2 separate regions of the Homo sapiens genome follow, and region 1 is linked to region 2. Evidence: promoter capture Hi-C in 16 types of primary human blood cells and fetal thymus (Javierre and others, 2016). All regions are on one chromosome and are shown on one strand. The core of a region is centred on a gene start or on the middle of the fragment in contact, and the rest is flanking DNA. Distances in the headings are between cores, read along the strand shown. Region 1 overlaps HDAC4 (histone deacetylase 4). Region 2 holds the start of OR6B3 (olfactory receptor family 6 subfamily B member 3).

The links. Contacts are between HindIII fragments. The CHiCAGO score rates a contact against its expected background, and 5 or more counts as called.
Region 1: a fragment that was not itself captured here is called in contact with the fragment with the promoter of OR6B3 in region 2 in 2 of 17 cell types (neutrophils and M0 macrophages); the score reaches 6.0 in neutrophils.

What each region holds. Positions count from the first base shown.
Region 1 is chr2:239,102,957-239,107,823 of GRCh38, forward strand. The region is part of intron 15 of HDAC4 (histone deacetylase 4); the gene reads right to left. Among named protein-coding and RNA genes, the nearest start is that of MIR4441, 19 kb to the left of the region's middle. The HindIII fragment of the contact is 2,037 bases long and covers 2,590-4,626 here.
Region 2 is chr2:240,051,450-240,056,268 of GRCh38, forward strand. It overlaps OR6B3 (olfactory receptor family 6 subfamily B member 3), which reads right to left and starts at 2,072. Exons shown (of 3, transcript NM_173351.2): 1 at 2,011-2,072. RefSeq lists enhancers at 3,384-4,026, 4,027-4,667. The HindIII fragment of the contact is 11,088 bases long and covers 1-4,531 here.

The DNA.
Region 1 (4,867 bases), core at 2,358-4,857, 950 kb before region 2:
AGACAGAAACTCCAACTGAAACCATTGCCCAAAAGGAAACTTAATTTGATACAAAAACAAGCATGTTATTTGGTTACTGCAAAAGAAGAAGCAACATCACCCAACGTGATATTTTAAAATATTTAAGAAATATTTTAGAGGGCTTACACTTAATTATAGCTTTGAAAAAACACTTTAAAAGATAATTCCAGCCTTCAATGCATTACCCTTCACTGTCGCACGAATGACTTGGCATCAAATTATTACTTTGCTTTCCAGCTGCCAGGGTCTGGTCTTAAAATAGAGGTGAGCTGCTGAGCTCCCTCACGTTCAAGGGAAACCCCAGCCGCGCTCCCGGAGTCTCTGAGCCCCAGGATGAAGCAGCCTTCCTTGGACCGCCCGGGGCCACAGCTGCCAGGGTCTGGCATCTGTCCTGGATGGCTAGCTGGCATCCGGCTGCGTCTCTCTGAGGTTTGGAAATTCTTCAGATTGAGATCCCTGGGCTAATTCAGATTTTCTCCAGAAATTCACAGGAAAATTAGTGTTCTTTAGTTGAGCTACATTTATTTAGCCTTTTAAAGGGGACGATGGCTTTGGACATGAGATTCGAGTTAACATTTCACATGGAAATGGCTCTCAGAGGGTTAGGCCACCACAGGATGAGTCAGACGCCACTCAGGTGGCCCCGGTTGTGGCTGTTACCTGCTTCCCCCAGGCCTGAGCAGGATCTGCTCTCTCCCTCCCGACTGCAGCCCTGCCCCAGCATCCGCTGAGCTCCTGCAGGCCTCGGTGTCCACCCTGTATGTGAGACCTGTGGTGGGCGAAGCTCGAGGGCTCTCTATGCCAGCCCAGCACCTGGGGCTCCTCTCAGACCACCAGGAGCCGTAGCACACAGCCTTCCTGCAGGACGCATTGCACCTGGGGGTCCTGTCCATGCAGGGTGGAGGAAGAAGGGGCGGAGCCAAGAACTCAGTCCCCGCCCACAGGGGAGAGACCTCCAGAGGGCAGGTGCGCTGGGCAGGGACGGATGCTCTGCGGGTTCTCTTCTCATGAACAACAATTCCACAAAACCGGGCTTCCTCTATGAAGGTCTCTTGTTTAACAAAGAAAAGATGTGACACGGCTTCCGGTGGTAAAAAACGACTCTATGGTCCCATCCACATAACCTAGTGCTGCTTCTACTTTGGGGACATAAGTCACATGTCCCTGGAAAGCCAGGCAGGAGGGACGTACTCTCTGGGTAGGGGTCAGGGTGCAGTTGGGGCCCTGGGCGGCTGCGGGGGCTTCTAATTTATTTTATTTTATTTTTTTTGAAACGGAGTTTCGCTCGTTGCCCAGGCTGGAGTGCAATGGCGCAATCTTGGCTCACTGTAACCTCCATCTCCCGGGTTCAAGTGATTCTCCTGCCTCAGCCTCCTGAGTAGCTGGGATTATAGGTGCCCACCATCACACCTGGCTAATTTTTGTATTTTTATCAGACATGGAGTTTTGCCATGTTGTTCCAGGCTGGTCTTGAACTCCTGACCTCATGTGATCCACCCGCCACGGCCTCCCAAAGTGCTGGTATTACAGGAGTGAGCCACCGCACCTGGCCAGGGCTTCTCATTTCTAATGACTTCAGGAAGCCCACATGTGTGTACAGGCACAGGCAGCTGTGGCCAGGGCCAAGTTCCCTCTGGACAGACGGGCCTAGGCAGCCCACGCTTGGGAAGGTCCCCGTAGGGGACCACAGGCTGTGCCCTGCGGTGCCAAGAGGCAGGTCATGTAGTGTGGACTTTGGGTGAAAGAACGGCAGGGTAGCCATGTGTGTCCTCCCCACTCAAAAGCGACCCACTGGATAAGAGACTGAATTGCAGAAAGAGAGATCTGACGTTAGACCACAAATGAAATTCACAAATTAAAGTTGATGTTAGAATAAGGCAAAGAAGAAAAGTAGAAAAACCCTCTCCTTACAAACACATGAAATGGACACAGAAAAGACACAGGATCAAAGCCCCAAAAGCTCTGCGACACCGCGACGGCTGGGGCTGCAGGTGCGCGACACCGCAAGGGCTCGGGCTGTGCGTGCGGGACACCGCGATGGCTCAGGCTGTAGCGTGCAATATTGTGACGGCTCAGACTGAGCACCTGAGAGGCTTTTCCAGAGCCACTCTGGGAGCGGTGGTGATGGTGGCCCCTTCCTGCTTTCTTGGGAGGCTGACCTCGTTATTTCTGTCTCCCTTTAATTCCTAGGATAAGACAGAAGGAGTCTTTGCTCCTTACAGCAAACACAGGCTTGGGGCAGGGTGCAAATCCCAGTGGTGGCCCTGGTCTCTGTGGCATCTGACTTCCAGCCCACCCACTTCTCCTCTCCTTCCTGGACACCGTGCCTGGAGGCAGGACAAACCAAGCTGGGCAAGCAAATTGGCCAGGAGCTGTTCTGGCTCCCGGGAAGCCTCTGCAGGAGGGCGGGGCCCGCACACACACATGGCTATACTCAGAGGACCCCCGACTGCTCAGAACGTGTGAGGCAGCTTCCCAAGGCCTGCTCTGGAGTGAGGCAGGGAGCGAGACAGCTGCACTGGGAGCCACGTCTTGCTGGGCCGGCCTGCCAGTATCGACAGGGTCCCAAGCTTGCAGAAAGTATCTCCCAGCCCACTCTCATCCTTCCTCACCACGCGAAGCCAACTCAGCAGTGTGAGGGGAGGGCCTCACCCCCCAGGCCTCCAGGCAGTCGTCTACCCAGAGAAGGGGTGCTGACTCTGAGGCCCTGCCCTCGGGCCTGGGCTTCGGTCTTGCTGTGGCCTCCAAGTGGTCCGCGGACTGGGGAAGTCACAGCCCCATCCACCCCATCTTCTCCTATCGGGTACCCACTCTAACCATGCCCCGTACCCATGGCCCCTCTGCTCGGCCATCTCAGGAGGCCAGTGACCCCTGGCAGGCTGGCACTGGAAGTCTGGTGGGTGACGTCACGTCCCCCTGGGCTGAGTTAGCACACTGCTCGCTCTGAACCTGGAGGGGCACCCGCACTGGAGAGCTGCCCCACGTGTGGGAGCAAGGCACTGCTGTCCAGGGAGTATGGCCTCCACCGCCTCTGTGGCTGTCTCCCAGCCACCTGTCTTTCTCCAGCTCTCCTCTCCCTGAGATCCTGCCAGGCTCAGGTCTTGTCCCACAGCCCCAACACCTGGGGACCCTCTGCCAGCCCCTGGCCCAGTCGTGGCTGGCACCTTCACCCATGGTGCTGAGGACAGGCAGAGGAGCCGAGGGCGGGCGGAGGAGCTGAGGGCGGGCGGAGGAGCGGGCTGTTTCTTCCAGGGTCTTTGCTTTCTCACTCCTCCCTCCCTTGCTTGCATTTGCTTTGCTTTTCTGGCTGAGAGACCCTCTCCCAATCCCCTGGCCTCAGCGGAACCTCCTGGGGGTGGGGGCACATGTAGGGGAGGGACAAGGAAGCAGGTTATGGAGCTCTGGAAGCCTCAGGAGGCCTTGGGCAGTCCCCAGAAGGGGCAGCAGGACAGCTGTCTGGTCCTGTGGAGGGAAGGGACGTGGGGAAGGAGTTTCCTGCAGCCAGTGTCTGCTGGGCAATGCTGCCCTCCAGTGGCACAGCCGTCCTGACCAGATCCCTGAAGCAGGTGCCAAGAGCCTCTACAGTGGCTCCTCCCCGCCTTCCTCCTCCCTCCTCCCAGAGGGCACTGCAGGAGAGGGTCCTGGGCCTGACTTTTAGAGAATTCCCCCCTGAAAATTATGTATCACCAATAAAACTGGTAAAGGAAACGGGGGGTAAGATGAGGCACAGATTAAAAGTTCACAAATATCCCAGCTTCTAAAGGAGGGCAGGCGAACCTGCAGGGCGGGACCCTGCAGAAACTAAGCCAGGAGACCAGAGGCCCTCCGTGCCACGCCAGCTCCACGTGCTCACTCATCTCTGCCACAGCCACTTGGGCCCTGGGCTGTCGGGTGTCCAGGACTGTTGGAGGGGTGGGTGTGGATGTTCCTGTCCACCCTGTGCGCTATCTGTAGGATGGTGGGATTCCTGGTGTGGGGAGTGGACATAGCAGGTCTCTACTGGTGGGCCCTGGCATGGGTGGGGCCTTGTGCGACCCTGCACAGTGTTGCCAGCCCCTCTCTACAGACAAAGAAATGGAAATTTGTCCAAGGTCACCAGCTCCCAGACGGGAGTCTCTTCTCTTCCTGCCCTCGCTATCAGCAGGGCCTGGCCACACCCTCCTCCCTGTCAAGAGCTCAAGATCCCCTGTGACAGCTGCCTCCAGGGTGAAGAGCACCAGCTGGGACAGCCTCACCAAAGTGCGGCCCCCGTCCTGCCCTCAGGTGTTAATCGGCTGATCCTTCTTGCCTCCTTGGGCCTGGGAGTCCACTGCAGCCAGATTCGGGGCAGGGCTCTGGTTCCTATCAGGAGGCGGGGCCGGGCCCTCCTTGTATGAGAACAAGTGAGGCCGCTGCCATCGCCTGGCGGCCAGGGAAACTGAGGCACAGCCAGAGCTGCAGCATCCCCGAAGCCTCCTCGTGTGACTCAGCCACATAAGGGAGCTGAATTCAAACCAGGCCAGGGCCCTGCCTGCAGCTCCATTCCCTTCACGACCCACTGCCTCGCCAGCACCTTAACTCTGAGGAGGGCCCCAAGGGCCTGAGGTCTCCCTGTGTTCTCGAAGAAGCTTTTCAAAATCTTAAAAAAAGAGAAAATTATTTTAACAAAAAGCCAACAGGCCTGATCTGAGATATAATCGGATCTCCCCGTGGCTCCTTCCTGGCAGCCCTGGGGGAGCATGGTGGGAACTGGTTTCCTTGGGGAAGTGACCCGGAGGCAGAAAGCAACAGCCCTGGACCTTGAGAAGAGCCTGCTAGGTGGGAGGTGGGAGCGAAACATCAGGAAAGGTCACAGACAGAGGCAGCA
Region 2 (4,819 bases), core at 822-3,321:
ACTTTGCCTGTGCCCAGCTTCTAGCTATGCCAGGAGCAGATCTTTCCTACATTAGGTAAACCCTTAGAGAGCATGGGAAAGTCCCAATTCATTTTACAAAATAGCAAATTCCTGATACGAAAGCCTGATGAAGATTTCAGGGAAGAAAAACTATGTATCGATTATTTTTTTCTTTTTTACTATACTTAAAAAACTCAAATAAAATGTCAGCAATTAGGACCCAGCAGCACTTTAAAAGAGCTCACGTGGCACTAGCGTGATTATTTCAGCGGTGCAAAGAGACTTCGAGGTTAGCAAATCTGCTGAAAGGATCACATTTGAAGTCTAGCTAATGCTAAAAGGCTTTGATTAAAAACTCTCCCAAAACTTTCATGCATCTGTCATCCCCAAAGAAGTGATTTTTCCTAACATGATAAATAATACCAGCCTCAACCAACAGCCTACAGCATCCCCACAGCTAAATACCAGGATCATTCCTGCTCCACCAAGGTCAGGATTAAGACAGGGCTCTTTGTTGTAACTACTGCTACGTAACAATGTGCCATTGTACTAGCTACCACAGAACAGAATAAAGAAGTAGACAAAATTATCATTATTTCCAGATGGCAGGACTTTTAAGCTGAAAAATCTGCTACACTATTATAATTAAGGGATTTCAAAATGAATATCAAAAATGTAGTCTTCCTGTATACCAACAATGACTAATTAGAATATTCTTAGATTCAAAAAAGTATATTGTAAAAATGTCAGTATCTCCAAATCAATTTTGAAATTTAACTCAATTCTATTTGAAATCTCACCAAATTATATTTTTCTTGAAACAGGATGAAATAATTCTTGAAATCATCTGGAAATATAAACAGATGAGAATAGCTAAAATAATTCAGGAAGAAGAAAAGAGAAGCAGGTTAATGAAGAGGCGTTTCTATTTTGGATAGAAAAACTACAATAAAAATAAAATAATAATTTAATAAAATAAATACTAAAGATAACGAGCACCACCATAAAGTCAATGGAACAGCATAGAGAAAGTATAGAAAGCCCTACATCAGAGCTGAGGATTTCTGTGATACTATTAGCAAGGAAAGCCTGGATTGTGTTAAACATGATGTCAGGATAGTTCATTAAACCCATGCTAAAAACCAACCGGGTCTGTTCTTCATATGTTACATCAGAAAGTGCATTTCAGATGGACAGAGCCTGCGATGCCTGCCGGTCCTCCAGCCTCTCCTAAGCTGCTGTTCTGTGGACACGACAGGGTAGAGCCCAAGCTGGAAGCCCGTGGGCCCGACACGCATAGCCTGCTCGTTGATTTCCTTTCAGCACTGATTTTTAAAGAATAATCCAATTAAAGATTATTTGTGACTTTTCTTTTTTTTTGAGACAGAGTCTCACTCTGTTGCCCAGGCTGGAGTGCAGTGGCATGATCTCGGCTCACCGCAACCTCCGCCTGCTGGGTTCAAGCGATTCTCCCACCTCAGCCTCCCGTGTAGCTGGGATTACAGGTGCCCAGCTCATTTTTGTGTCTGTTTTAGTAGAGACGGGATTTCGCCATGTTGGCCAGGCTGGTCTCGAACTCTTGACTTCCGGTGATCCGCCCACCTCAGCCTGCCAAAGTGCTGGAATTACAGGCATGAGCCACCGCTTCTTAAACATAAATAGGGAGACAGATTTTATGGTGGGGCAGACCGAGAATTCCAGTGGCTTCTGAGCACCTCTCAAGCCAGTTCCTCACACGCCTGTATATTGGGTATATTGGGATGTCATTTATCCTGCACGTTTCAGAAGGACAATTCTCTAAAACTTTCACTTTGACCTTTGTTTTTGAAAATCAGAACATTTCACACAGAGGCACCAATATCTGGTTTCTTTTGAAAAGCTGGAAGATCTGAGGCAACACCGTTCAAGGTCCTGCACTCACAATGCACCCTGTGGACAGTGCAAGATGCACCCTGCTCGCAGCATGGCCCCTCTCTCTGGGAGCACCTGCCCCGTCTGCCCACTGCTTACCTGATTGCAGCTGCAGGGCAGGGCGCGAGGCAGGCAATGATGTGTCTCTGCTCCTACTCAGATACCTCTGGGTCCCCATGTCCCCTGTCTTCTTGGGGTGCACATTCCCACGAATGCCTCTGATGAGGTCTCTTCCTCCCATACATAAAGACTCACAGGCAGTTATACTCCCTCCTCCCACTGCCATGCGGCTTCTGTCGCTGTGCACCTCGGGGACTAGCTGTCCCCAGAAGCCAGCGACGTTCTGCTCATTTCTGGGCCCACATTTTGGCTCTTGTTCTGCTCCCCTTTCCTTCAGTGTCTGGCGCTGTGGCCCCAGCCTTCCGTCCCCACCGTCCACACTCAGAACAATGTACCCGCCCCTGCGGTTCCTGTAGTCACTTCCAGCTGACGACTCCCAGGCTGCCCCGATCCCTCTGCAGAACTAACTCCTGTGTCCAGCCAATGACTCAAGACCTCCCCTGGCCATGGAGCCCCTGCCCCTGTGCTCTTCCTCTCAGGGAGTGGTGCGGCTGCCCACGCCCCCCGGATGCCCCACTGAGCTCCCGTGTGGACCCTTCCCCTCCCCTCCCTCCACACCCGAGCACGCCTGAGTCCTTCTGCCCCACATCTTAAATGCCTCCAGAATCAGGTCTGCTGTCTCCACGTTCATGGGCTGCCATCCACCCTGTCCTTGTTCAGGTTCCGTCCCTCCCAGGCTGGATTATTGTCACCGCTCTCTCACTGGTCTTCCTCCAGTCTCTCCTGACTCTGTCTGATCCATCATCCCAGTAGCAGGGAATGACATTCAGGGAATGACACGCAGACCTCTCTCCTGGCCACGTCCATTGCATGTTCTTAGCATAAGCCCCTTGCTCCTGAGTCAGCCTCTCTATGGCCTCACTGCCTCTCTTGCTCCTGCCCCTCCTGGAATCCCTGGCTGCTGCAGGAGGCACCTCTTCAGTGCCATGAGAGCACCGTGCTGATTCAGTCCCCACTGCTGCCCTGCCAGTTGCCCTTCAGGACTTGCCTCAGACGTAGCTTCTTCCTGATGGGCTCACTTGAGCTCCCGATGCTACTGTTAGCTGCTCCCAGAGATGAGGAATTTCAGGGTGCCTCCAGGCTTCTGCTTTCATTAGGGTTTCCCTGCAGAGGGGGAAAGTGCACTTGAGGAGAGAGAGGAAGATGAGGGGCTTAGTTTGGGGCATGCTGGGCTTGCAGCGCCTATGGGACACCCTGTAGAGAGCTCCAGGAGTACCCCTGACATCCAGAACGCCCACCAGAGACTGAGGTCAGATGTCAAGATGTGTAGGGGGTCGGTCCAAGGTTTATTAAGTGTCTAATATGTGCCAGTCATTGTTTCAGGCAATTGAGATAAATCAGGAGAAAAAAACAGTCCCAAACTCTTGCCTTCATGAAATGTAAATTCTAGTGAAGGCAGGAAATAAGTCAGAAAAATAAATAATACCCATGATATGTAAGGAAATTATTTAGAGTGTGGAAGGTGGTGAGTGGATGGGAACAGAAGGTCAGGGTGGGCTGGGGGGTGGTGGTGGGGATGTGCCAGAGAGGAGGCGACACCAGGGCAGAGTCTCAAAGAAGATGTGAGTTAGCCTGTGGCTGTCTGTCGGACACACGTAGGTGGAGAGAAAATGAGGTGCAAAGGCTGCAGGCTGGGGAGTGCAAGAAGGGGGTCAGGGGGTTGGGGCAAGGCTGGCTGCAGCAGAGTGATAGGGAGTGGCAGGAGACAGTGACAACCAAGAGCAGAAGGAGCCCACTCAGAGCCTGAGGTGGTGAGGACCATGGTGAGGACGTTGGCTTTCACTCTGACGGCAGTGGCATGGCACCACCCACACTGTAAATGGCTGACTCTGACCACTGCATTGAGATCGGGCTGGAGGAGTCAGGTGAGGAGGGGGAGCCCGTGCAGAGACCCTGAGGTCATCAGGGAAAAGGCTGCAGGAGCGCAGGCCAGGGCAGGAGGCGTGGGAAGGGCAAACCTGTCCGGTGTGTGCTGAAGGCAGCCTCAACGAGGCTTTCTGGCTGGGTCCCTGAGAATCAAAAGTGACACCAGGAAGTCAATCTGTGCTGCCTGCAGGGATGTGAATGAGATTGACCAAGGAAAATATGAAGACTAAGAGGGCAAGAATAAAAGTTGAGAAGCCTCCCCCTCTAGAAGCAGGAAGAGGAGGAAGAGGGGCTGGTGAAGGTGGTGGGAGACGTGGGGAGACACTCGGGGACGTGTGGCCCAAGCCAGGACACGGTGGCTCCTCCAAGAGGAGGGAGCATGATTGGCAGGTAGGAGGCCATTGGTAACGGCAGAGGGAAAACATATCAGGGAGGGTTTGGGGGCAGAAGCTCAATGTTAATGGGGCAGGCAGAATTGGAAAGGAAGTGGCACAGAGCTAGCAGGAGCAGATGCCTCTCAGGAGGAAGGAAAACAGTGATACAATTTGGTGTACTTTCACAGTTTACCATTTCCCAAAACATTTCATCCTTTTACTTCTGGTGTCTTGAAGTGTAAGTAGGTATTTTACTTGAAAGCTTTTCTGAACCCAGTTCTGTGGAGTTAATATCACAATGGAAAGTATAAACACCAAACAAGAGTCCTCCAGAATGTGTTTCTGGGGAAGATCTGTCCCCGGGGAGGATGCCTGGAACGCATGCTTCTGAGCTGCAGTGGAGATGAGCGTGCGGCTGGAGGGGACACGGCAGCAAGGTCTAGGGGGTGGAGGGTCTTAGAAACCTACGTCTTCCTGCCCATCCCTTGTCACGCCTGTCCCCAAAATCACCAAGACGGCGAAGTCTGGCCCAGGCCCAATGTGAGGGG